7 separate regions of the Homo sapiens genome follow, and regions 1, 2, 3, 4, 5 and 7 are each linked to region 6. The links are contacts of gene promoters, found by promoter capture Hi-C in blood cells and fetal thymus (Javierre and others, 2016). All regions are on one chromosome and are shown on one strand. The core of a region is centred on a gene start or on the middle of the fragment in contact, and the rest is flanking DNA. Distances in the headings are between cores, read along the strand shown.

Region 1 (2,887 bases), core at 70-2,569, 420 kb before region 6:
CACGTGCCACCACACCCAACTAATTTTGTTTTAATTTTTGTAGAGACAGGGTCTCACTGTGTTACCCAGGCTGGTCTCAAATTCCTAGGCTCAAGAGGTCCTCCTGACCTCCCAAAGTGCTAGTATTATAAGCATGAGCCACCATGCCCAGCCTATCGCAGGGATCTTTTAAAGTTGTTCTATGCACTCATACTGTGTTGGGAATACTTATACCAATAAAAAATGTGTTCCATTGCAAGTAAGAGAAGACTCAAATAATAGGAGCTTAAACAATCAAGGCATTTAGCTAATGGGAAGTTTGGAAGTAGAGGGTCAGAGGTTGGGGCAGTGACTCAGTGACTGCGAGGCACTGGGGTGCTATCTCTGTGAAGCCTTGGTTTTTACCTCATGTTTGTAAGATGGCTGCCAAAGCTCCAAGCTTCACATCACGACACAACAGTGTTCAAAAGAGAAAGGGTGGGAAAAGGGAGCAATAACAAACCTCTTCCCCAAGTGGTTCTTAACAGCATGAAGTCTGGGGGATGCCAGGCCTTATAGCAGGGGTTCTTAAACTTAAGTGTGTGTCAGAATCACCAGGGGAGCCTGACATTGGTGGCTGATGCCTGTAATCCCAGCACTTTGGGATGCCCCGGCCGGGGGGATTGCCTGAGCCCAGGAGTTTGAGACCAGCCTGGGCAACATATGGAGATCCTATCTCTACAAAAAAAAAACCCAAAATTAGCCAGCCATGGTGGTTCGAGCCTGTAGTCCCAGCTACTCAGGAGACTGAGGTGGGAGGATCACTTGAACCCAGGAGGTTGAGGCTGCAGTGAGCTGTGATTGCACCACTGCATTCCAGCCTGGGTGACAGAGCCAGACCTTGTATCCAAAAAAAAAAGAAAAAAAAAAAAACACCAAAAAAATGAATCCCTTTGAAAGCTTTATAAATCAGTGCTAAGTCCCACCCCCAGAGTCTCTGAATCAGCAGGTTGAGGTAGGACAGAGGGAGAATCTGCATTTCAGACACGTTCCCAGTGAGCCTGATGCCGATGTGTGGGTCCCTGCACCACGCTCTGAGAAACACTGGCTGATAGCAGTAGGTCTCAGCCCTGGTTGCACATTAAAATCATCTGGGGGAACTTTAGAAAAAAATCCTGATATCCCAGCCACACAAGGGCCCCAGAACATCAGAATTTCTGCAGTTAGGATCCAGGCATTAAAAAAACTAAACCTCTTCCCCCCCACCTCCCCCACTTCCTTTCCCCGCTTCCCCGTGATCCCAGTGTGTAGGCAGGGCTGAGAACGGCTGTCTGAAAGCCTTAAACCCCGAGGTGGTTACCAAACACGCAGTCTTCAGCTCTACTCTGGAATCAGAATGGCTGGGGGCTTCAGATCTTGTGTTTTAAACAAGCATCCCCAGTGCACTGAAATTTGGGAATCACTCTCCAGCCACATGGTAGCTGCCATCCCATAAACCCCAGTGCGCTGGGGGAAATGACGTGAAAGTGATCCAAGCCATCTAATGATACAATTAGTAACAACAGCTAACATGCGCTGAGCCTTGCTGCAAGCTGGAACATTTAGATATCACATCTTCTAGCTCCCAGTATGAACACGAAAGAGGGGTGGAAGTGATTAGCCCCATTTGACAGATGGGATAACTGAGGCCCAGAGACATGAAATGACCTGCCTAAGGTCACTCTGTTGGTCAGTGGCAGAGCCAGGATTCGACCGAGTCTCTCAAGCTTTGAAGCCCACGTCTTTTGTGCCAGGCATGCTGCCTTTTGCTTCTTCTTTGAGGTCTTCTTTGGGAAAGGATGGGGTGAAAATTGGAGAGACTTGCAGGGGAAGTACAAATAATTCGATATCAATGAAGATGTAGCCTGGGTGGCCAGGCCATGGTGGTTGTCGAATCTACAATGAGCAAGATTCATGAGTGCGAGTCATCTTGCCTCTGCCTTCTGGAGCTGGCTCATTGGTATTAATGGATGAATGGGCCTCATTTGGGCAGTTGTAATTAACACGCTGACTACTGAGATGAGCTCAGCCCGAGTCACTCCTGAATGGCATAAAGCATTGCTCAACACGCGGCTCATCCATTACGTTGTTCTGGGTCCCAGGCTCAGGAGTGAGCCGGCCCCAGGCTCAGGGTGGTCAGCAGAAATGAAGGACTATTGGCATTTTCAAATCATCAGCTTAGTTTGAGCACTTAGCATTTCCCTGTCCGGCTTGGCATCGACGGCAGAAGCTTAATTAGTGGGGACCGAAGGAAGGAAGGCACTTAGGAAGTGAGATGAAGTTTGGGTTCATGTCCACACGAGCTGCTCAGAACTCAGTAATCGGGGCTTTGGATCAGACAGACTTGAGGTCAAATCCCTGTTCTGCCCCTTTTTTGGGGGAAATGACAAATGACCTCATCCCTCTGAGTGTCAGTTTCCTTTCCTGTAAAATGCGGATCATTATGGTGCCAGTTTCATTAGGTCATCATGATGGTGAAATAAAATAACAGGCAAACCCCTCAGCACCATCCCTGGCACCACGCCAAGTGCTTAATAAATGCTAGCTCTTATTAGTATTTACCTACACATTTATTTATTTATGAGAGGAACACAGCCCAAAAATATACACAACACTCACTGGGAAGAGGAATCATAAAAATAGGCTTAGAGGATCGATGGGGATGTAAAAGACGGTGGTTCCTGGAGTCTGAGTGTGAGCTTTATTCGAGTTCAGGGCGGTAAGCGTTTCTGCATCAGAGCCTGAGCTGATTGACTCCGAGAGCCTGAGCAAAGTAGAGAGCGTGTTTGAGGCTCTCGCCTGGCACCCGGGGGGTCTGTTTGCAATTTAGGGTGGCACTTTCCATTCTTAGGGTGGCACTTTCCATTCTGGGACCCTCCTTTCTAGTTTG
Region 2 (2,859 bases), core at 346-2,845, 380 kb before region 6:
AGATCACCTGAGGAGTTCCAGACCAGCCTGGTCCAACATGGTGAAACCCTGCCTCTACTAAATATACAAAAATTAGCCGGGCGTGGTGGCGGGTGCCTGTAATCCCAGCTACTCAGGAGGCTGAGGCAGGAGAATCACTTGAACCCGGGAGCTAGAGGTTGCAGTGAGCCGAGATCGTGCCACTGCACTCCAGCCTGGGTGACAGAGTGAGATCCTGTCTCAAAAAAAAAAAAAAAAAAAAGCCTCAGATGTCATAACAAGGCCTGCCAAGTGGTAGAACAGTTTGGGTGATGTATCTGAATTAAGGTGAAGGAACAACTCTAGTTTCGATCTGGCACACCAATGTCACAGAGAACCATCATGTTAACCCCAAAAGCCATTGAAAGAATCCAGGGTTGCACTCAGAATCCACATGAATGACTCCCTGGGCCTCCCTGTTGTCTTGTTAATTAAACCTGCTTTTTATCCTCCTCAATCGTGCAGATACAAATCCTACTGTGTGAAGGGCATCTGTTTCCAACTTAAGAATGTCTTTTGTTTATTTTATACTTTAGTTGCCAGAACTCATCAGGATTGCTTTTTACCCCTGAAAAAAATTACAAAAATATGGAGGACTTCAGTTGCTTTAGTGCCAAGCTATTGAGAATGACTCTGGGAATTCCATCACCAGATATTCCTACAGGAAGCACTTTGTTTAATTCAAGAGATATTTATGGAGCACTTAGTGAGACACGGTAGAGATGGGGCTTGGTTTCAGCTCACCCCCACTGCAGCATTCTTTCATGCATTCCCGCCCATCACAAAACCCCACCACGACCTCACTACTAAAAATTCCAGGAACTGGCTCTAGGAGAAAACTAAGGTTGTGGAGTGTCCCACCTGGGGAAGGAATGCTGAACAATTTGTTTGCAGCCGTGTTGCTGCAGTCTGGACCACCAGGTGGCCCATGACTCAGGATAACCATTGCAAGGAGATCTGCTGACCTGCATACCCTACCTTCACGTGCTTTGCCCAGCCCAGCCTCCATACTCTACCCCGATGTCAATTCCTGTGCTTTGATTAGTAAAAAAGCCCTACCTGCTCTTTTCAGGGCATCAGTTCAGGGAATTCTCTCTCTTATGCTGCCTCCCTTATGCCCAAGCATAAGTTCCAATGAAGCCTTGTTTGGGAAAACTCTTTTGGAACCATGTCGATTTCTATTGCATTGAGAGCCCAGGAACCTGTGGTTGCTAACATATTCTTTGGGGGCTTGTCTGGGATTACAGGACATGGGGAGTCTTTCTCTCTCTGAGGGGGAGACTTGCAAGCTGATGGGACTGCTGGACAAGATCCCTTTGCGGCTGGCAAACGGCCACCTGAACTTTTGATTCAGTGTCATTGCGATGGGTGAGTCTTTCTCAAGCCTCCCGAACTTCCTCGCCTCCCCACAGCTAGCAATGGTTTTCTCCCTCCCCTTCTTTCTCTTTCTCTCCTTTCCCTTTCCTGTCTTTTCTGTCACTCAGGGTGCTTTACTTCTTGTCTCCTACTTCTTACTGTTTTGGGTAGCCTAAAGCAGTGGTCCCTAACCTTTTTGGCACCAGGGACCAGTTTTGTGGAAGAATATTATTCCATGGACCAGGGTCGGGGGGATGGTTTGGGGATGATTCAAGTGCATTACACTTATTGTGGACTTTATTTCTATTACATTGTAATATATAATGAAATAATTATAAAACTCACAATAACAGAATCAGTGGGAGCCCTGAACTTGTTTTCCTGCAACTAGATGGTCCCATCTGAGAGTAATGGGAGACAGAGACAGATCATCAGGCATTAGAGTCTCATAAGAAGTGCACAACCCAGCCAGGCACGGAGGCTCACACCTGTAATCCCAGCATTTTGGGAGGCCAAGGCAGGTGGATCATGAGGTCAGGAGTTTGAGACCAGCCTGACCAACATGGTGAAACCCTGTCGCTACTAAAAATTCAAAAAAATTAGCTGGGCGTGGTGGCATGCACCTGTAATCCCAGCAACTCAGGAGGCTGAGGCAGGAGAATCGCTTGAACCCAGGAGGTGGAGGTTGCAGTGAGCCGAGATCTGGCCACTGCACTCCAGCCCAGGTGACAGGGCGAGACTCTATCTCAAAAAAAGAAAAAAAAAAGTGCACATCCTAGATCCCTTGCATGTGCAGTTCACAATGGGGTTGTGCTCCTATGAGAATCTGATGCTGTTATTGATCTGATGGTAATGTGAGCAATGGAGCAATGGGGAGCAGCTATAAACACAGGTGAAGCCTCGCTTGCTTGTCCACTGCTCACTTCCGGCTGTGTGGCCCAGTTCCTAACAGGCTATGGACCGGGGTTGGGGACCCCTGGCCTAAAGAGATATCCTTGAGAAACCTTGAAATGGCTTCCCTGTTTTACTTATAGACATCCCTGAGGGATGGATGGAAACAGGTGATATCTGGGTCTGATCAACCCAGCAGGCAGTGAGATGGGCTGCATCCCTCCCCTGGCCTAAGTTGGTTTGGGGTTGAGTCCCAAGAAAATCCCTCTCTCTCTTGTCACTCTCCCTACCTGGCACCTTGGCCCTTGATCCTGTAACTCTATTCAAAACCCCTCATTACTTCACTTTCCTTTGTCACCTCTGATGGAGAAGAGAGGCCTGTCATCTTTCTGGGCATCTGTCTCACGTGTGGTCCTTTAAGTGTGGGGAGAATGCCTGAGACAGGGTGCTGGGGATGCCTGGCTGGTCTTCAGGAAGGCACCAGGGACGCCTAGGGGTGACTGTCAGTATGGGTTTTCTGCACAATAAGAAAAGTTCAGGCTGGCTGTGGTGGCTCACACCTGTAATCCTTGCACTTTGAGAAGCTGAGACAGG
Region 3 (2,788 bases), core at 140-2,639, 330 kb before region 6:
CAATCTCTCTGAGCTTTAGTCTCATCTGCAAAGTGGGGCTGATAATGGGACTTGCCTCATAGGGTGCTTTTGTTGTGAAGATTGGGTGAGATGATGCATGTAAATATCACTGCACTGTGGGTGGCCTGTAGTAAATGCTCAGTAAATTTATCGACATTACCACTGGCTGACACCATGAGCAATTTAAGGGAAGACCAGTGGCTTCATCTCTGGACCCCCCAGCACCTAACACAATGCCTGGATTATATCAGTCACTAACTGAGCTTTTGTCTAAATGCTTTTGAATAAAGGTCATGAAGAAAACTAATCTAGGCTGTGTATCAAAATTTATCTATATGAGGATGTCCATTGCAGCATTCATTTGGAGAATAAAATATTGAAAAACCACTGAAAGTCCAGCATGGTACATCCTTACTATGAAATATTTTGCAGCAATCAAAGACAATAATGTCACCCCATAAGTGCTGACACAGAAAAATATCTAAGACATATTCTGTGAAAATTTTGAGTTTGTGCCAGCAGATAGTATGATACCATTTATGTGTGTGTGTGTGTGTGTGTGTGTGTGTGTGTGTGTGTTTGTTTTTTTTTAAGACGGAATCTCGCTCTGTCGCCCAGGCTGGAGTGCAGTGGCGCCATCTTGGCTCACTGCAAGCTCCGCCTCCCGGGTTCACACCATTCTCCTGCCTCAGCCTCCCGAGTAGCTGGGACTACAGGTGCCCACCACCATGCCCGGCTAATTTTTTGTATTTTTTTTAGTAGAGACGGGGTTTCACCGTGGTCTCGATCTCCTGACCTCATGATCCACCTGCCTTGGCCTCCCAAAGTGCAGGGATTACAGGCATGAGCCACCGCGCCTGGCCTGTGTGTGTGTTTAAAGGACATTTACAGGTAGAAAATGTTTAGAAGAATACTGAAGAAACTGTTAACTGTAATTACCTCTGAGAGGGGAAGAGAGAGGAAAAAGAAGGAGTTTTGCTGTTTACTTTATGCCAGGGGCCAGTAAACTACAGCCCTTGGGCCAAACTCAGCTGGCTGCCTGTTTTTGTAAACACAGTTTTATTGGCACACAGCCATGTCCATTTGTTTACATATTGTTTGTGGCTGCTTTTGAGCTTCAAAGGCAGAATTGAGTAGCTACAACAGCCTGCATGGCACAGACCATATGTCCCACAAAGTCTAAAATATTTACTATTTGGCCCTTTACAGAAAAGGTTTGATGATCTCTCTTTATCCCTTTCTGTACTATTTAATTAAAAAAAATGGGACATAGTATTTAAATTGTTTTGTTTGCAAGTTAATGTGACCTTATTTTGTAGTAACAGGATGCTGAAGCCACGGACTACCATATCCATTATCTGTTGCCACAATAATGCTGTAAAAAAAATATTACTCCAAAACTCAGTGGCTTGAAACAACCACCATTTATGGATCATTAGGGTGGTTCTTCTGGCCTCTGCTGGGCTTGTTTACATATCTGTGGGTTGTGTAGGAGGTTCTGCTGATTTTGGCTGGGCTCTCTCACATGTTGGCCTTGGCTGGGACAACTGGGCTGGTGTCCGTTGGTCTCTCATCCTCCTGCAGGGTGGCTCAGGCTGTCCTCAAGGTGACGGCAGTGTTCTGACAGTGAATGGGAGAGCAGGTCTCTTTAGGCGTAACCTTGAGACTCACACACCCTCACTTCTACTCTAGTTGGCCAGCACAAGTCACAAGCCCAGGCCAGATCGAGGGATGGGGAAAGAGTCTACCTTTTGATGGCAGTAGTTGCAAAGCCAGATCGTAAAAGATAGTGTATTAGTCTGTTTTCATGCTGCTGATGAAGGCATACTTGGACTGGGTAATTTATAAAGAAAAAGAGGTTTAATGGACTCACTGGAGAAGCCTCACAATCATGGCAGAAGACAAAAGGGACATCTTACATGGCAGCAGGCAAAAGAGAATGAGAGCCAAGTGAAAGGGGAAATGTCTTATAAAACCATCAGATCTTGAAAGACTTATTCACTACCAGGGGAACAGTATGGGTGACACTGCTCCCGTGATTCAGTGATCTCCCACCGAGCCCCTCCCACAACATGTGGGAATTATGGGAGCTACAATTCAAGATGAGATTTGGGTGGGGACACATCCAAATCATATCAAATAGGAACACCAGAAGGGGTGGAGAATTGAGGACAGTTTTGTAACCAATCAACTGCAATGACTCCCTTACCCTGACAGAGCACTGTCACCTACAGGCTGTCTAGTGAGCTTCCAAATCACCCTTTAATGGTAGGTAGTCCAGTGCCCTTACCCCTATTATAGAGGTAGCTGAGGAAGCTGAGATCTAAAGAGACTTGCTCCAAATTGCTCCATGGGGCAGGCTTAGACTTGAATGTGAACCCAAATCTCCTGACTCCTAGCACAGGGCTCTTCCCCAGGCTCCTGGCTGCTGAGCTTTCTTGGTCCCTTTTTTTTTTTTTTTTTTTTTTCTGTTTCACATGGGCCCTGGGAGAACAGTGAGCTTCTCTTATTCATTTTTGTATTCCTAGTGCCTGGCGCTGACCATGTGTTCAGTTGACACATGGGACAGTCTGGGACTATTTTTTCAAAAGGCACAATGAATGGCAGTATATTGAATATGGAACACTTCCATTTTTGGCCACTCACCAAGCAAACTACTTTCTGTATCTGAGGAATTTCCCATCTTATGGGCCCCAGGTGGGTGATTAAGGCTTCACCAGTCACAAAACAAAACTCTCTTGGACCCCCACCCAAAAAGACAGGGTCTGGAGGGTTCTCTGTTGGGGTG
Region 4 (2,825 bases), core at 315-2,814, 440 kb before region 6:
CTTCCTCCTGGAATCTCCTTCCCTTCCCAACTCAGCTGACCCCTTTCCAGGCTTAGAGCAGGGAGCAGATAGCAAACTGTTCACTCCACAGTCTTAGATACCAAACTGGCCGGGAGGGCTTCCAAACGACAGATGCCAATTTGCATTCTATTTACATGTCATTTGCATGCAGTTTAACTCAAAGCCTGGATCCTCCGCAAGCCCGAGTCCCCACCGAAGAAACTTCTGAATTAAGAAGGTTCCTTGGCTGAAGTGCCGGGGTTTTTGTGCCAGATCCCTCCCCCACTTCTCTTGTCTTTGCGGGGTCCCCCAGGGCTTTCTGGGCTCTGTTCAGGTGCCCCCCGGCCTGGTGCAGTTGGGCGGCCAATGTGGCGCGTGGGCTGGGGCCCCAGGCGGGGACGCCGCTGCCCGCCACACTCCAGGGGCCTTTGTCCGCGCTCCAAGGAGCCGCCCCCTTAGCGAACGGGGGACGGAAAGGGAGGACTGGCTAGGCCTGGGTGTGACAGAGCAAGGACGGAGGAGTGAACCCGCTGCACGGGGGAGATTTCTGGGGCAAGGTCGTTGGCCCCTTCCCAGGCTGTTCAACCGGCTGCCCGGGGCCAAGGCGGGTGCGGGCTCCTCCCGCGCGCTCCCTTTTCGGCCTAAGCGCTAGGGACCCCGGGATGTGTGGGGTCCTTGTGGGGCTGGAAGCCTGTGTCCCCCAAGGAGAGGGGACCGAGAACAGGTCTAGTCCTTATCTCCAGCCTAGCCGCCTCTTCCAGAGGTCCAAGTGCCCCCTGTCTGGAAGGGAAACGCCACTGCCCCCCCCGCCATTGTATGCAGCCGCCCCCTCCTCCCCACCCCTCCCCGTCATTCGTCCCCAGCCCAGGTCTCAGCTCTGCCATCTCCCACCGCCGTGTCCCCCCCTCCCCTTGCTGAGTAATGCGCACTCAAGCCGGCTGCGGGCTTGACCCCCAGCCCCCGCGACAGGTGCGGCTGTTCACCCCCAAAGTCCAGCCCTTGTGCCCCCGGCTGCGTCTGCCCTGTCCACAGTCAGCCCCCAACGCGGCCCCAGGACCAGCCCGCAGCTCCTCACACATGACGAGTCACTAGGACACGGCTGGGCTCCTTTACCCTCCCAGCTGCCCTTCACCTGTGGTCGCCCCCACACCCTCCTGGGAGACTTGGATCTCTACCTGGTCCGGGCACAGTCTCCCTCCCCCCGTAAAGGTCCCCAGATCCTCCCCTCCCCCGCCCACCCCTCTACGGCTCTGCTCTCGTCGCACCGTGGTTCCCCTCGCCCAGATTCCACATCTCCCCCAGCAATAAACTCCCTGGCTTGGGTTGGGGGGGCGCTTAGAAAAACACAAGAAGCGGACCCCCCAATTCTCCCAAATCCACGGCGGGAAAAGTTTCTGGGGTCCCCACAGCGTCCTCCACTGCATCGGCGCAGCTCGCACTTACCGACCCCCGCGGCCCCGCAGCGCCGACGCTCCAGCTGGCCTTCGGCCCGAGTCACATCTCTGCGGCGCGGCCGCGGCCCCCGCTCCACGCACGCCCGCCTGCGGGTCCAGCTTCACTGCAGCGCCTGCCAGAGTCGCTGCCGCGCGAGGCGCCCCCTGGCCCGGCCCGCGCTGCTGCAGCGGCCGCGGCCCCGCCCCCGCCCCCGCCCCCGGCCGGCCCCGCCCCCGGGCCTCCGAGCCCCACCCCCGGTCCCGCCGGCGGTTCCGCGCGGGGCTAGGCGCCGTCTGCATGCACCCCCGGAGCCCAAGCTCGTAGCTTCTAGCCCGGATCTCAGAGACGATTCCCCCGACCTCGTGCCCCCAATTCGGGGACATTCCCCCCACAACGTCAGTGCGCCCGTAAGCAGTCCAGACGAGCCGGGCAACTCCCCAGGGTAGATCCATTTGCGGGAACACTCCCCTAGCCAATACACTTACCGAGGGAGGTATCGCGACCCAGGGGTCCCAGCGCGGAAGCCTTCCTGCCCCCAGGCCACGCTCCAAGGGGGGTTCATAAGCAGTAACTTCCCCGAAACACACCAGCACCAGGTCCAGGACGCAGAGAGGATCGATCCCGCCCGGTGCCTCTCGAAGTCACCAACGCCCCGGTATACACCTAGGCGCACACACACCGCTAGGCCTCCTCCAGGCAGGTTCCTCCTGGACACACTCTTCTCTCTCCTCACTGCCCAACTCCCAGATGTCGTTGTCCGTTTACGCACACTGGGACCAACACCCGCTTCCTTGGCCCCTCGAAACACACACGTCCAGTCGGTGCACCCCTCACGTGGGTCCCTACGCAGGATCGCCACCACCCCTACCGCACACATCACCCACGTACGCACATGTCCACTGCCCTTCAGGGCTCACACACTCAGCGGCCCGGGCCACTGGCCGTGCGCTCCGCAGACGGTCAGGGCACAGCCCGGACGCGTGTCCGCTGGGCGGCCGTGGGACCTGCTTGAAGGAGGGGTCCGGGGCAGCCGTCTCTGAGTCCCCCTCACCCCGTCCTAGTCCTCAGGCCTCTCCGAGGTCGCATTGCTTCGACCAGGCCTGGGAGCTGCGCTCCGGCACCCCATATGGGGCTGGTTCCCTGGGTGACCTTCAGACCATCAAACCCTGGCAGTCTCAGGTGGCCCCCCGCCAAAGCCAGAAACAGACCTTTGAGCAGCATCCCTTCCCTGCACTCCAGATTCTCAGGGTGAGATTTCCTTTCTCCCTCCGCGGTGCGCCCCCCAATCTCTACCCCCGTCGCCGCAACCATCCCAGCCACATAAGACCAAAAGGGATAGGACGGACCCCTGCTCCCCTCTCCCGGGGGCTGCAGGAAGGGGAGATGCAGAA
Region 5 (2,727 bases), core at 202-2,701, 400 kb before region 6:
CCTTGTGATCCACCTGCCTTGGCCTCACAAAGTGCTGGGATTACAGGCGTGAGCCACAGCACCCAGCCTAATCTATTGATTTTCAACTTTGGCCTCCCATTGGAATAACCTGGGAGTTTGAGTTCCAATCTCAGAGATTCTGAATTCAAAGATGGCATGTGAGCTTAGCACCTGGATTTTTCAAAGCTCTTCATGTGATTCTGATATGCACACAGTGGGTGAGAACCACTGCTTTAAAGCAAACCCTTCAAACTTCAATGTTAAAATGCAAATTGTGGTTCAGAACATCTAGGGTGGGCCCCGGGATTCTTGCATTTCTGACAAGCTCCCAGTTGGTGCCAATGCTACTGGTCTGTGGACCTCACTTTGAATAGCAAGATTTAAAGAGAAGACACAAATATGGATTATACAATGGGAAATCTCCTAATTAGGAAGGAAACAAAACACTGTGTCCACTAAACAAGTCTATAGGTTGGACTTCCCTGCAGGTCATTGGTTTAATGGGTGTGTGTGTCTCTTTCTCAATCTCTCTCTCTCTTTTAGATCTCTTTTGTAGGGTTCCTGTTATGGCCAGGATACAGGGGTTTTGTGAGGTCTAAGGCAAGATCCCTCAGTTTCAGAGGCTCAGAACTGGGTTTGTCGGGAGGCGGAGATGGAACAGGAAGGTAGGCAAGCTGTCAGCCTGTTTCGGGACATGATGATCTGGAAAATGCCTCGGAACAGTCTTCCCCACACCACCCCAGGGCAATCTCACCCATAATTGGCATAACTGATTTTCCTGCAGATGAGAAGAGGCTAGACGAGGTCCAGACAGCTCCCCATCACACCCCGGCGTTAGGAGCACGCCTTTCTCCTCTTCCTTTATCGGATCAAAGTCTTCCATCAAGCTGTCTGGTTCTGTCTTATTCAATTAAACTTTTTAATCCAATTTGACCCATGCATTCATCTTCTTTGAAATCTGAGAGACGACAGCATCCGCTACAAATTGAGAGTAAATGGCCGAATTAGCTTTCAGAGAGGATCCAACGAGACTGTTTCTTCCCAGGGACCAACAGGCTCTTTGGAGCAGCTGGATCATAGAGGAACGTGGCTGGGGGCGTGGACGGAGGACAGTGGGGTTGTAATCTCCCTTCACTTTGAGACCCTTGGACAGATGGCATGGCACAGCCACTGACAGCACAGACTCTGGAGCCAGAGAGTCTGGGGTCAGATCCAACTGGGTCATGCCAGGCAAGTGCCTGAAATTCCATGCCTCGGTTTCCCCATATGTAAGATGAGGGTGATAACAACAATACCGACCTCTGAGGGCTATTGACAGGATTAAATTCATCCACACGTCTATGTAAAACACACAGAATAGCACTTGACACGTGATAGCGGCTATATGTAAGTGTTAGTTGGTACCATAATTCCTCTGGAGAGTTAGTTCAGCATTTCTGCATGGTGTGGTGGAGTCACACCACATGCCCATTTAACTTAGTGGGGGTTATACCATGCACGCTTGGGTAATATATCATCACCCAGCCAAGCAATCAAACCAAACAACCCTCCAATAGGTATTTTTTAGGTTGTTTAACTGAAGGATCGACATTCCGTTTTGCTGCTGGAGAAAAAACCTGGCTGGCAGGGGTAGTTACGAAATATTCAGAACCATGCTTACTTTATTGATGAAATAAGGGATTTTTTCAAGGTGAATTTTGGACCGTTTGGCGGGTTTGCCTGAATTATTATTATTATTAGTTTTGAGACAGGGTCTCACTCTTGCCCAGGCTGGAGTGCAGTGGTGCAGTCTCGGCTCACTACCACCTCTGCCTCCTGGGGTTAAGCAATTCACGTGCCTCAGCCTCCCAAATAGCTGGGACTACAGGTGTGTGCCACCATGCCTGGCTAATTTTTGTATTTTTAGTAGAGATGGGGTTTCACCATGTTGCCTAGACTGGTCTCGAACTCCTGAGCTCAGGCAATCCACTCACCTCCACCTCCCAAAGTGCTAGGATTACAGGCATGAGCCACCATGCCCAGCCTGAATTCTTGATTTTGCAATTTTTCTAAAGAATTTGGACTCTACCATGTCCTATTTGATCCTTGTCCAACCTGGTGAGATAGGCGAAGTGTGTTAAAATAACCAGATAGCAGAGCGTGGTAGTTCGGACTGGGAACTTGGGAGTCAGACTGCCTGGGTTCAAATCCCAACTCTGCCACTTACTCTTGGACATTCTATAGACAAATCAACCTCTATGTGTCTTCATTTTCTTATCTGTAAGTAGAGATGATGATTAGCACAATAATAAAATAATAGTACTACCTAGAGCTGTCTCAAGATTAAATGGGTTAGTACACATGAAGTGCTTGGAACAGTACCTAATACATGTTAGTCAAAAGTGATAGCAACAGTCATAAAACAACGACTAGTGCCAAGCCCTGGGCGATGCATTTGGTATGTATTACTGCATTTGAACCTGGTAAGAGCCCTTTTTGAAGAGGTGACAGGATTTGCCGAAGTCCCACAGTCACGACCTCAGCTCCGCAGCTCATGTGTGCCTTTAGCCCTTGGTGGGACCCTGCGAAAGAGTATAAACGGTGCAAACCTTTAAGGTTGTACGCCAGAACTTCAGTTTATTGAGTACCTACTGTGTGCAGGACATTTTGTTAAGTGCATTATCTCATTTAATCTTCACTGTGACTCTATGAGGTAGGTGCTCTCACTAGCCCCATTTTCTTTTCTTT
Region 6 (3,099 bases), core at 560-3,059:
TCTAAAAAAAAGAGATTTTCAAGCTTTGCACATGCTTATAATACACATTAGAAGGGCCTTTCAGAAAAAAAGATTTTCAAACTTTGCTCATGCATGTACTTATTTTAAGACAAGGAATCACTGCATTTGTTATTCTTAGATTGTATTTTTCCACTGGAGGCCTCCAATGAGCTCAGTACCCTCTCCCACCCTCCTCCAGGGGCTGAAATTTGCACTCTAATTCTAAGCCTGAGACTCCTTTCTGCAAGTATCTGAATTGCCCACTTCATAAAGAGATCACTTAATCTAGCCCTTTCAGGAAAAGGAGAAGGCACTTGCCAGCACAAGGTGACTGAGTTATGTATTTCTTGATCTTCTTTAATCTGGGGTCTCTAATCTCCCAAAGATATGGGCATGGGAAATTATGTTAACTGGCTCCCACTGCCCTTTCAGAGGAATTTCTGATTAGGCTCTTTGAGAGATTGTGACTTGATTTCCATTGTTTCTCATTATGTTTCCCTTGACTTCTAGCTCTGAGTTTTTGCTTTAGAACTGCCAATTCCTCTTCCTTACCTGAGCCACCTTCTCTGCACTTCTATCCTCACTTGCTAGGTCTTCCTTGACATCTGAGATGCCAGGTGAGCAGAATACTTACCTCGCTGCACTGCAGATGCCTGGGTCAGAATGCAGGAGACCAAGGCCAGCCACAGGAGGCCAGAGCCCACCATCCTTTCCATAAGGTGAGGCATGCAGGTCACTTTGCTGTATGCAGACTTCCCATGCAGCTATGGGAAAGAAAAGACCAAGATAAGATTAGGGCATAGGTCTATGTTCTTAGAAACAGATCCGTTGACTTCCTTCATAAAGAGCTGCATTGTTTCAAAGTAGGTGTGACTTATGGACAGATAGAGCGAGATAATGGGTGATAAAATTGACAGTAAGCAAACCAAAGGCAAGCTTAGAGCTGGCTAGTACTGCAGAATGTCCTAGAAAGGTCTCAGGATGGTCCCTGCTCAGGTGGAAGTAGAGGCTCTTTGGAGATTGGATAGAGAAAAAGGGATATGGTACCTGTGAATACCTGCACACAAAAGTAATGGCTGCCCTTTCTTAGTTTTATGCATTGGGTGCTGCTAAGAGCCCCCTGAAATGTCCTCTATGGATGTAGATTTCTGTGACTGTGGAACCATGCCAAACCGAGCCTCATGTTCCTTGCTCCTAGTACAGAATCTGGCACACAAGGAGTACTCAGTAGAGGATTAAGGATGAATAAATAAATCAATGGGGGTTGGGGGCGGTGGCGAGGCAGAAAGAAAGAGCTGCAAAAAAGCCTGCCAGCATTTGGATGGCATTTACTTTTCTGGGAAATACTTTCCCTAAATGGCCAAATCTTTGGATAACTTCCTACAACCTCTGGAAGACTTCAGTGGAAAATAGAGATCGGTTTCGGGCAGGGATACCATGAGTATGCTATGAGACAGCAGGGATAGGGAAGCACCCAGGATTGGTGATTCTTAGAGATGAGATCCCAATAGAGACCTAGTTCCCTGGTGGGAATATCTGGGACAAGGAAGAGGGTGGCGTCCGTAGGCCTGGAGCATCGCAGATGACTGGAAGCATGACTGAGTTGGACATAGAGTGGTACCTGGAGCACTTGACAATGGCCAGGGTCCAAACTACTTGCTGGGTTCTAAAAATTTCCAGAAACAAAGAATCCTAGCATGTCCAGTGGATCAAGATTTCCCAGGATTAGGAGGAAGCCTCCTGGGGCTTAAAGCAGGACTTACCTCCGATGAGAACACAAAGCGTTCCTCCTCTGGCCAGCCATGGGAATGCAGCCTGCTGTGGGCCGTCTTTTTATTGCAATTTCCCACCCATGTGTCTCTCCTCAATTGGTGCACAGGTATGATGGGAGTTCTAGGCCATACACTGGGCTTGTTGAGTGGAGGTGAGATAAGCCATTTACGCAAAGGATGGTGAAAGAAGGGCCCTCCCCTCACAATGTCAACCCTTCCAGCTGTCTCAGCATTGTGCGAATGCTTCCTACAAACAATAGTGCTGTGTGCTGAATGCTGAACATGCTGGGCACTGCTTTGCGTTCTTGACTTCTCACATTTAATCTTCATAATTAATCAATGAAACTGGTGCCATATTTATTACCAGAAACCAAACACGAATTGAAAGGAAGCTTAATACCCAAAGGGAAGTGAAGAGAAAATCAAACAGGCACTTGTTTGCACAATGGATTTTCAGTTGTACCTTGTGTTCCTAGCTAATCATCTTGGAACATTTCTGCTTCTGTCTGAAGGCCACTGAGCTTGGGGCCAGTTAGACTAAGAGGACACATAGGAAAGGAAAGAAGGGAGTGTGGATGTTTCGAAAAATTCCATTTATTGGTCCATAGAATCTACCCAACTCCGGATTTCTAATGCTGAGCAGTTTTGGAATGGCTAATTTGGTGATGATGGATTTTGGAATGGCAAAGGACAGACAAAGGTTCTTGGACAAAAGAAGCACCAGAGTAGCCCCTGTAAATCCCTTTTGATATGTAGGCTGCCCTAGAGATTGGAAGGCATGAGACTGAGAAGAGGCTGTAGAGGATCTTGGACTTATTAACTCCAGGCTTGGACCTGGCTTTCATGACATGGTAGAAATCATGGACTTCATAAAAGAGCCAAAGCTTTTGCAGAAAAAATGGCCACTGCTTCTTCTCTGTCACTCTGGGACTCCTTAAGGAGCCAAGGCAACTGGAGTCAAGGGAGCAGGAGGGTCTTGGCATTGGTAACACCTTCTACAAAACCTCAACCTGGAAAAAGAAAAGGTGCTACAAGCCACCTTCTCTACTCCCAGAGCAACTGGAGAATAAATAGTCTCTAAAATGTGGAACTTGTGACAACTGGGCCCACTAAATCACCTACTGATCCATTCAGTCTGGCCAGGTGCCCATCCCAGTCTCCCCAGTGGCCACTCTTAACCTTCCCATTCCTCTTAAATGGTCTCTGCAGCTATTATCACCCACTCACACCACCTTTCTCAGCAGATATCTGGTACCCTACTTCAAAAACAATTTAGGCCACAACACCTGACCTTGCTCCTTCCCCTGTAAACATATAAATACTGGTC
Region 7 (2,858 bases), core at 57-2,556, 350 kb before region 6:
TTCCCCAGGTTCTCAACAGGACCTTTATCAATCTGTAGGGGACTCTGGAAGGCCTCACAGTGCTTCTTCAGACAAAGACGACAAAGAGGAAAATTTGCACTTGGAGAAAATATCAGTGGGAGGGGTGGTTTCTGGGTGAATCGCATTTTCCATAGAGCCTGCCATGACACCCTCTCCATTTTCAGAGAAAACGGAGTACTTTCCTGCTTCGCGCCCCACGATACGTGAGCACCTGTATTACTATTTGACTATTTATGAGTTGGTTTCAATTGACTATTTATTTGACTATCTATTTCTTGATTTTGGTTGTTAGTTACACAATACCTGAACTGTTGTCCCTGTAAAAAATGGAAATTACACATATGTATAGAGACCCTTTTTTTCTCCATTCTCATTCCAATACCCCTGTTGTTTATATTATTATCTTATTTTTCTTTTTTCTTTTCATTATTTTTATTTTGTATCTATCGTTGCAGATCATTAGTGGTCGTAGGAGTAATAATAACCATTGTATTAGTCCTGATAATAGCAAACATTCATTGAGAACTTACTTTGCATCAACTTTATATTAGCTCATTTGATCCTCACAATAACCCTATGATGTATATACCATTTGTATTAGTTTGTTTTCATACTCTTATAAAGAACTGCCTGAGACTGGGTAATTTATAAAGGAAAGAGGTTTAATTAATTCACAGTTCAGCATGTCTGGAGAGGCCTCAGGAAACTTACAATCATGGCAGAAGGCAAAGGGGAAGCAAGGCCTTTTCTTCACAAGACAGCAGGAAGGAGAAGTGCTGAGAAAAGGGGGAAGAGCCTCTTACAAAACCAACAAATCTCGTGAGAATTCACTCACTATCAAAAACGCATAGGGAACCCACTCCCATGATTCGGACACCTCCGCCTGGTCTCTCCCTTGACACATGGGGATTACGGGGATTACAAATTATACAAATGTACAATTCAAGATGAGATTTTGGGTGGGGATACAGCCAAACCATACCACCATTATCATTTCCATTTTACAGATGAAGAAACTGAGGCTCAAAACATTTCAGAAATGTTTTCAAGGTCACATAACCAGTAAATGGCATAACTGGAAGTTGGGTCCCAGAAGTCTGAGTCCATAGTTTGTGTCCTTAATCCTCATTGTACAGTTCTCTACCTACTGTACATGTTTATGTATCATTGAAGGTAAATGCTATTTATGTGTGTATGTTCATGCATATGTGTGTGCACAATGGATTTTTTTTTTTTTTTGAGAGAGAGAGTCTTGCTCTTTCACCCAGGCTGGAGTGCAGTGGGTGATCTTGGCTAACTGTAATCTCCGCCCCCCAGGTTCAAGTAATTCTCCTGCCTCAGCCTTCCGAGAAGCTGGGATTACAGGTGAGTACCACCACGACTGGCTAATTTTTTGTATTTTTAGTAGAGATGAGGTTTTACTATGTTGGCCAGCCTGGTCTCAAACTCCTGTCCTCAAGTGATACACCCATCTCGGCCTCCCAAAGAGTTGGGATTATAGGCATGAGCCACTGTGCCTAGCCAAAATTGGTTATTTTTAAATTGTAAATAGTGTCTTATTGAATAGTTGTTTCTCATACAACTATTCAATAAGATACTATTTACAATCAAGCTATTTTTTTCCTAACAAATTCAACCAGCAATGTGTCTTGGAGTTTTTTCCATATCGACAGATACAGACTTATATAGACAGATATAAACTTACTTCATTATTTTTAATGGCTGCTAGATACTTTATGGGATTCATGGCCTGCAAATATAACTGTGTTTTGGTTTTCTTTTTTGGGGTCATTCTCCTGTTGATGGACACATTTGTGTTTCTTTTCTCCTTTATTTTAAACTAAATTTTCCCTTTAAATTGTAAGTAAAAAAATGTACATTTCTTAGTACTTAGGACTTACATTTTGAGGAAGGAGATTGCCATGCACACATTAACCCTGCATCCTTGTGCATGGATTCCGCATTATTTCCTGCAGGCTGTGTACCTTGCTCTCATTTATATGCAAGTCAGATCCTGCACTAGAATGAACAACCTGAGGATACAGACCATGCCCCAGTTATTTCTGTGTCCCCTCCCCTAGTATTGTGCCTGGTATGTCGTAGGGGCTCAGTGAATGTTTGAATGAATCAGTGATTGAATGGTGTATTAGTTATTGCTGGTTAATAAATTTCCACAAGACTCAGTGGCTTAGAAGAATACACATTTATTATTTTACAGTTTCTGTGGCTCAGGGATTCAGGCAGAGCTCATCTGCGCAGGCTGCAGTTAAGGTGTTAGCTGGGGATTTGGTCATCTCAAGGCTCTACTGGGGAAGGATTTGCTTTCCAACTCATGTGGTCATTGGCTGGATTTAGTTCCTTGTGGTTGTTGGAGTGAGGACCTCAGTTCCTCTTGTTTATTGCCACATGGGTCCTTGTCAGAATGTGCAAGTAATAGAGTCTGCTAGCAAGACAGGAATCACATTCTTTTGTAACCCAATGTGGAAACAGCATCCCATCACGTTGGTTGTGTTTTGTTGATTAAAAACAAGTCACAGGTCCCTTGCACACTCAAGAGGAGGGAGTTATACTGGGACTTGAATACCAGGGAGCAGGGATCACTGGGTGCCCTCTTAGAATTCTGTCTACCACAAAAGAATAATTTAAATAATAACATCAAAAAATAATACAGTTGACCCTTAAAGAACATGGGCTTGAACTGTGAAGATTCAAATATGCAGATTTTCTTCTGCTTCTGCTCCCCTAAGACAGCAAGACCAATCCCTCCTCTTCCTCCTCCTCAGTCTACTCAAGGTGAAGATGACAAGGATGAAGACCTTTAAGATGATCCACTTCTA

Evidence for each region. Contacts are between HindIII fragments. The CHiCAGO score rates a contact against its expected background, and 5 or more counts as called.
Region 1: a contact is called between a fragment that was not itself captured here and the fragment with the promoter of GP2 in region 6, in 6 of 17 cell types (M0 macrophages, M2 macrophages, M1 macrophages and 3 more). The highest score is 14.4, in M0 macrophages.
Region 2: a contact is called between a fragment that was not itself captured here and the fragment with the promoter of GP2 in region 6, in 1 of 17 cell types (M1 macrophages). The highest score is 6.1, in M1 macrophages.
Region 3: a contact is called between a fragment that was not itself captured here and the fragment with the promoter of GP2 in region 6, in 4 of 17 cell types (M2 macrophages, M1 macrophages, endothelial precursors and 1 more). The highest score is 8.8, in M2 macrophages.
Region 4: a contact is called between the fragment with the promoter of GPRC5B here and the fragment with the promoter of GP2 in region 6, in 3 of 17 cell types (M0 macrophages, M1 macrophages and M2 macrophages). The highest score is 7.9, in M0 macrophages.
Region 5: a contact is called between a fragment that was not itself captured here and the fragment with the promoter of GP2 in region 6, in 5 of 17 cell types (M1 macrophages, M2 macrophages, endothelial precursors and 2 more). The highest score is 12.4, in M1 macrophages.
Region 7: a contact is called between a fragment that was not itself captured here and the fragment with the promoter of GP2 in region 6, in 4 of 17 cell types (endothelial precursors, M1 macrophages, M0 macrophages and 1 more). The highest score is 7.0, in endothelial precursors.

Annotation. Positions count from the first base shown.
Region 1 is chr16:19,910,994-19,913,880 of GRCh38, forward strand. No RefSeq gene overlaps it. Among named protein-coding and RNA genes, the nearest start is that of GPRC5B, 28 kb to the left of the region's middle. The HindIII fragment of the contact is 806 bases long and covers 917-1,722 here.
Region 2 is chr16:19,947,964-19,950,822 of GRCh38, forward strand. No RefSeq gene overlaps it. Among named protein-coding and RNA genes, the nearest start is that of GPRC5B, 65 kb to the left of the region's middle. The HindIII fragment of the contact is 5,122 bases long and covers 1-2,859 here.
Region 3 is chr16:19,996,429-19,999,216 of GRCh38, forward strand. No RefSeq gene overlaps it. Among named protein-coding and RNA genes, the nearest start is that of GPR139, 76 kb to the right of the region's middle. The HindIII fragment of the contact is 7,996 bases long and covers 1-2,788 here.
Region 4 is chr16:19,883,284-19,886,108 of GRCh38, forward strand. GPRC5B (G protein-coupled receptor class C group 5 member B) reads right to left here and starts at 1,565. Exons shown (of 4, transcript NM_016235.3): 1 at 1,444-1,565. RefSeq lists an enhancer at 1-308 and a silencer at 1,824-2,118. The HindIII fragment of the contact is 5,537 bases long and covers 1-2,825 here.
Region 5 is chr16:19,928,344-19,931,070 of GRCh38, forward strand. It overlaps LOC105371116 (a long non-coding RNA gene), which reads left to right. Exons shown (of 3, transcript XR_950894.2): 2 at 544-665; 3 at 785-886. Among named protein-coding and RNA genes, the nearest start is that of GPRC5B, 45 kb to the left of the region's middle. The HindIII fragment of the contact is 8,332 bases long and covers 1-2,727 here.
Region 6 is chr16:20,325,704-20,328,802 of GRCh38, forward strand. It overlaps GP2 (glycoprotein 2), which reads right to left and starts at 1,810. Exons shown (of 11, transcript NM_001502.4): 1 at 1,764-1,810; 2 at 635-764. The coding sequence starts at 728. The HindIII fragment of the contact is 1,228 bases long and covers 935-2,162 here.
Region 7 is chr16:19,975,031-19,977,888 of GRCh38, forward strand. LOC105371117 (a long non-coding RNA gene) reads left to right here and starts at 1,339. Exons shown (of 4, transcript XR_950895.2): 1 at 1,339-1,386; 2 at 2,805-2,858. The HindIII fragment of the contact is 7,054 bases long and covers 1-2,858 here.